2 separate regions of the Homo sapiens genome follow, and region 2 is linked to region 1. Evidence: promoter capture Hi-C in 16 types of primary human blood cells and fetal thymus (Javierre and others, 2016). All regions are on one chromosome and are shown on one strand. Each heading gives the region's core, a stretch centred on a gene start or on the middle of the fragment in contact. The rest is flanking DNA. Distances are from core to core; before and after follow the strand shown.

Evidence for each region. The method cuts DNA at HindIII sites, captures the fragments that hold promoters and counts their contacts. A CHiCAGO score of 5 or more calls a contact.
Region 2: the fragment with the promoter of RIPOR1 here is called in contact with the fragment with the promoter of CARMIL2 in region 1 in 10 of 17 cell types (endothelial precursors, naive B cells, megakaryocytes and 7 more); the score reaches 9.5 in endothelial precursors.

Annotation. Positions count from the first base shown.
Region 1 is chr16:67,643,797-67,646,660 of GRCh38, forward strand. CARMIL2 (capping protein regulator and myosin 1 linker 2) reads left to right here and starts at 1,348. Exons shown (of 38, transcript NM_001013838.3): 1 at 1,348-1,490; 2 at 1,744-1,835; 3 at 1,928-1,981; 4 at 2,222-2,284; 5 at 2,390-2,514; 6 at 2,630-2,721. The coding sequence starts at 1,451. RefSeq lists a silencer at 1,042-1,431. The HindIII fragment of the contact is 10,344 bases long and covers 1-2,864 here.
Region 2 is chr16:67,527,577-67,530,276 of GRCh38, forward strand. It overlaps RIPOR1 (RHO family interacting cell polarization regulator 1), which reads left to right and starts at 1,253. Exons shown (of 22, transcript NM_024519.4): 1 at 1,253-1,338. It overlaps LOC100505942 (a long non-coding RNA gene), which reads right to left and starts at 1,169. Exons shown (of 2, transcript NR_104656.1): 1 at 741-1,169. RefSeq lists silencers at 1,210-1,319, 1,350-1,579, 2,580-2,700. The HindIII fragment of the contact is 8,124 bases long and covers 1-2,700 here.

The sequences.
Region 1 (2,864 bases), core at 98-2,597:
CAACAAACAAACCAAGTATGTCTCTTCAATCGGGGAGGCAGCAGGAACTCTCTGTGCTGCATCTTCTGCAGCTGACTCCTCCTTGTCACCCTTAGCTGTCATTTCACCTCCACCTTGCTGAGCTATGGGCAGGGTAGACTGCTGTTCCTTACCGCTTAAGTGGAGTTTAGATTGTAATAGAAGAAAAAAAATGCAGTCTCTTCCTGTGAACTTTCCAGAATCTAGGTCCTGGTCTTTGAGAGGGCAACAGGCTACCAGGCCCCACCCTATGACTGTCTGACCCCTCTCAGCCCTGGAGACACTGGCTTATTTCTCTCTCTCTGGCTGCCCCCTCCCAAACTCTCTCCAGCCTGGGGAGAAGGCAGACACAAGAAGACCCTCATGTACCTGGACGACTCACTCCGGCCCTCTATGAAGTGCTTGGGGTTCAGGGCTCACCTTAGCCCCAGGCTTCCCCCCGAAGGCTCCGGGTACACCCTCACCTTCGGCCCTGACCCCACCTCTGCGGCAAGGAAGGGCGTCTGGACCCATCAGGCTGTTTTTTTTTTTTTTTTTTAGACAGGACCTGGCTTTGTCACCCAGGCTGGAGTACAGTGGTGCGATCTCCGCTCACTGCAAACTCTGCCTCCCAAGCTCAAGTGATCCTCCCACCTCAGCCTCCCAAGTAGCTAGGATTACAGACACACGCCATCACGCCGTCTAATTTTGTAAATTATTTTGCAGAGACAGGGTCTCCCTATGTTGCCCAGCTTGGTCTCGAACTCTTTGGCTCAAGCGTTCCTCCTTCCTCGGCCTTCCAAAGTGCTGGGATTACAGGCGTGAGCCACCGCGCCTGGCCCCATCTGACATTTTTTCCCACCCATTCAAAATCTCTTGGATCCCTAACAGGGTCACGGACTCCAGGTTCGGAGCAACGGGCAGGACCTCCGGTGTTGGCAGAATTCGGGCGCTCCTTGCTGAACAGTCCCCCTTCTGCCAGGCGCCTCGTCCACCTCCGCAGCCTGGGCTTTGGAGGGGACCAGCCCCGGTGGGCCGCGGGGATCCCCAGGCAGGCAGCGTCCCCTGGTGTTCGCGGCAGGGACTGCGGGGCGGGGTGGAAGCCGGGGGCAAGGACCCGCTGGAGGCCCGCCACACCCGCGACCCTCCCGGCCACGCCACTGCCCACCCCGACGTCTACCCTGGCGGAGAAGCTCCTGGGCGACGGGGCGGGCGGGCAGGTGGGACTCGGCCCCCCTCCCACAACCCCGCTCCCGGGCAAGCTCTCGAGCCGCGAGGCCGGGGCGGGGAGGGGCCGGGCCGGGGGCGGCCTGGCAGGAAGCGGCGCGCACCTTCCGCCGCCGGAGGAGCAGGTGGCTGCCGTGCGGGTCTGGGCCCCAGGCTTCCTGTGTGCGCGCTCGTCCTCTGCTGTTTCCCGCCGGAGCTCGTTGGGCCTCCCCGGCCCGCCCGGCCCATGGCCCAGACCCCCGACGGCATCTCCTGTGAGCTCCGAGGTAAGCGCTGGCCCTTCCTGCCTTCTTGGCCGGGAGGAAGTAGTGCAGCCCCAAAATCAGAGGCCCACCCAGCGCCCCAGAGGGCCTGGTCAGAGGTCCTCCCTGCTCCCCAGGAGGGCAGGCGCCCCAGATCCTCTCCCCTCCTTCCTCGCTGGCCGCAGATAAGCCCCAGGGCCCCAGCCTGGCACAGACTGTGGGCACCAGTGGCTTCTGTGCAAGGACTGAAGTCACCCAGCAGGCTGCCCTTCCACAGGCGAGATCACCAGGTTCCTGTGGCCCAAAGAGGTGGAGCTGCTGCTGAAAACCTGGCTACCCGGGGAGGGTGCTGTGCAAAACCATGTCCTGGTATGGGGCAGGGGACAGAGCCGGGGAGGCGGCTGTGGCCCCACAGAAAGAGCCTCTTGCTCTGCCCAGGATATCAGACTGTCTTTCCCCAGGCACTGCTACGATGGAGAGCCTACCTGCTGCACACCACCTGCCTCCCGCTGAGGGTGAGTCCCAGGGCCTGGCCACACCCCCGCCCGCCAGCAGCTACCTTGGCAGGGGGCTGCATCTGCAGAGTGGTCCTTCTTGGCCTTGTGGGCCCTGACTTTGCACCAGCACTGGGCTCTGGGCAGCCGACAGGAGGGGAGTCCAGGCAGATCTGGCTCTGCCCCAGGCTGCCCAAAGGACTGGACTTCCATGAGGGCGGGGCTGGGGGCTTGGTCCCAGCTGATCTAGGCCCTTTCTAGGTGGACTGCACGTTCAGCTACCTGGAGGTCCAGGCCATGGCGCTGCAGGAGACACCCCCTCAGGTGAGACACCTAGTACCCTACCTGGGCCTGCAGCCTGGTCTTCATGCTACCACCATCACCTGCGCCCATGTGTGGAGCCGAGGCCTAGTAGTGCCCCTTCCCTAGGTCACCTTTGAGCTGGAGTCCCTGCGTGAGCTGGTCCTGGAGTTTCCTGGTGTGGCCGCCCTGGAACAGCTGGCCCAGCACGTGGCTGCAGCCATCAAGAAGGTCTTCCCTCGCTCGACCCTTGGGTGAGGCCTGGCAAATTCGAGGGGCTGGCAGGGGAGGAGGGAGTGCATGAGAAGGGCTGCTTCCCATCCCAGAGGCTGGAAGTCCTTTGCCCCCTTCTCCTTAACCCCCTACCAGGAAGCTATTCCGGAGGCCCACACCAGCCTCCATGCTGGCTCGGCTGGAGAGAAGCAGCCCCTCGGAGTCCACTGACCCCTGCAGCCCCTGTGGTAAGGGTGAAGGCAGAGCCACAGGCCTTCCAGCCTGCCCCACCTCTGCCTCCCCAGACCCGCAAGCTGGGGGGGCCCCAAACTGAACAGAGCCATTCAGGTCCCAGCCACCACCTAGTCTGTGGGTCTGGTCTTCCTCCATC
Region 2 (2,700 bases), core at 3-2,502, 120 kb before region 1:
TAAAAAACCGACCAAACAGGCTGGGCGCGGTGGCTCATGCCTGTAATCCCAGCACTTTGGGAGGCCAAGGCGGGCAGATCACGAGGTCAGGAGATCGAGACCATCCTGGCTAACATGGTGAAACCCCATCTCTACCAAAAATACAAAAAATTAGCCGGGCGTGGTGTGGGCGCCTGTAGTCCCAGCTACTCGGGAGGCTGAGGCAGGAGAATGGCATGAACCTGGGAGGTGGAGCTTGCACTGCATTCCAGCCTGGGCGACAGTGACACTCTGTCTCAAAAAAAAAAAAAAAAAACCCGACCAAACAAAACCAAGCAAACAAGCAAAACACACAAAAAAACAGCCCTCAGGACTGGTGGGGGCGGGGTACAGATATTCAGGGACCTCTTACTGTCCCTGAAACCATTCCTGGGTAGGTCTGACATACATGAGGGCTGCGGGAGTGCAAGGCCTGGAGAAGCCTCAGGGGTGTCCAGGTTGGAAGGGCCAGGGGTGTCTGATTGATGGGAGGAGCGGGGGAGTGGAACTGGCCCTTTGACCCCAACATGGGGTCGACTCTCAGCCCCACCTTTACCGACTGTGTGGAGGGCCAGCATTCTAGCCCCGGCTTTGGAAAGGACTGGGTTGCCCAACACATGGCCCTGTACCCGGACCCTGCCAGCGTCCCCACCCCAAGACTGCCCGAAAACCAGTACCCAATGAGTGGGGAATGCATGACCCGGCTATGAGCCTGGACTTACCAGCCAGACAGTGGCAGAAAGGGCGGCCTGCCTCTACAGCGACGCTGAGGCTGGCTGAAATGGCAGGGCTGAAGGGCAGCGTCTGGACCCAGAAGGTGCCAGGCGGCTTCTGGACTCCCCAAGGCCTTCACAACAGCCCTGGATCCTTTCCACCAACCAGCCTAAGCCAGCAGTAGCAGCTCCAGGACCTGTTTCAGGTGGTCACGGACAGGGGGCCCGCAAGGTCTCCAGAGCCCGAGGGATCTGGGGAGGGGACAAGCAGGCGGGGCTCCCTGGCGCTCACCGTTTTAGGGTCTGCGTGAGAAAGCCTCCCTCACATCCCCCAGGGTCTGCCCTCCCTGCAAGCTGGTGGGCTGCGTGGGCCACCGGCCTGCCCCGTTATCCGAGAGGGCGGAGCGAGCCGTGGGCGCCTCTAGGGGTGCGGGAGCCGCGGGAGCGCAGGGGGTGGGGCCCGGCGGGCCAGGGGAGGGGCGGCGGGGCGGCGGGCGGAGGGAGGGGCCGGCGCCTGCGGCGGCGACAGCGGCAGCTGCGGCGCGACCAGGCCGGGCACCTCCGAGCGCAAGGACAGCGCGAGGTCCGCGCAGCCCAGCGCAGCCATGTGAGTGTCCCGCGCCGTTTCCGGGGCTGCAGGCCGGGCGGGGAGCAGGCGCGGAGGTTCTGGTGCCCCCCCGCCGGCGCCGCCCGGTGGGTCCGGGATCTGCGGCTCTGTCCCGCCTCACCCCATCTCCCGGACCCCGGCCGCGCCTTGTCTTTCCTCCCCTCCCCCCGGGCGTGGAGAACGCAGCTTCTCCCACAAAAGCCGCCGCCTCCGGGCCTGCAGAGCCTGGCGCTGCTGCCTTCCTCCCACGGCAAGGCCCTGGCGGCCGGTGCCCCGGGGCGCTGGGATGGGCCAGGCCAGAGAGCGGGCTCAAGGCGCCAGCCTGGGCCCTGGCACGCGCGCTCCCTGGGAGCCCTTGCTGCCTTCGCCGCAGGGGAGGCTGGGCTGGAAATGGGGAGGGGGCGACGAAGGGTGCGGGCCGGCCTAGGAGCTGAGCTAATCCTCCTAGCTCTAGGGGCCGGCCTAAGCGGCTTTGTGGCCGGCCCCGAGGTGACCGAGCCTGGGCTGGAGCCGGGCTCTCCGCCCAAACCTGGCGTAGCCGAAGCCGGAGAGGATCGTCCTTGTCGGGGAACGGAGCTTTTCCCTGGAAATGGAGGTTGGCGCAAGGTTCCTGCAACAGCCGGGCCTGGGCTCTCTGCAGAACTGGTTTGGGCAAGGGGCTGCTCACCAGGGCTAGAGGTCGGATTCAGTCCAGATTCAGCACCCTTTGTCCTCCTCTCCAGGGTGAGCCCTGAGTCCGGCCTCCCCTACAGACCCTCCCCAGCCAGTTCTAACGTGTGTCCAGGCTGGCCGCCCCAGCACCTACTGTGCGCAGCCTCGTGTAACAATACTTGTGCCCTGGCTGCAGTCTGCGGGGCCGCGCCCTGGGCCTGCCGCATTCGGCCAACGCACAGCATCTGAGGAGGGTTATGACCATCTGGCAGATGCAGAAACAGGCCCAGAGAGGTTAGTAGTATTCTCAAGGTCACACAGCTGGTTTGGGAGAAGCGAGGATTAGATCTGAGTCCTTGCCCCTGCGACACCCACCTCCGTGGTATTGGAGGGAGGAGAGGAATGATAATTGGGGGCTGAGGTACAAAATACTCCAGCGGGACAAGGAGGACTGGCATAGCTCCTTCTTCCACCGCCCTCTCCGGCTTGGGTCCTGTGACTGCGGCGGGAGAGAGGAGCAAGGTGAGCCGCCCCAGGGGTCTGGGTTTGGGTGCGGGTGAGGGGAGGACTCAGGACTCTGGGCTGGGTCCCGCTTGAGAGAAGCGGGCGGGGAGGGCGCGGGTGAGTCACGGCGGCCCCTCTGCGTCGCCGCTCGGACTCAGCCCTGGCCAGGCCCGGCCCGGGGGAGGCCGCCTGGCTCCCAGCGCGCGG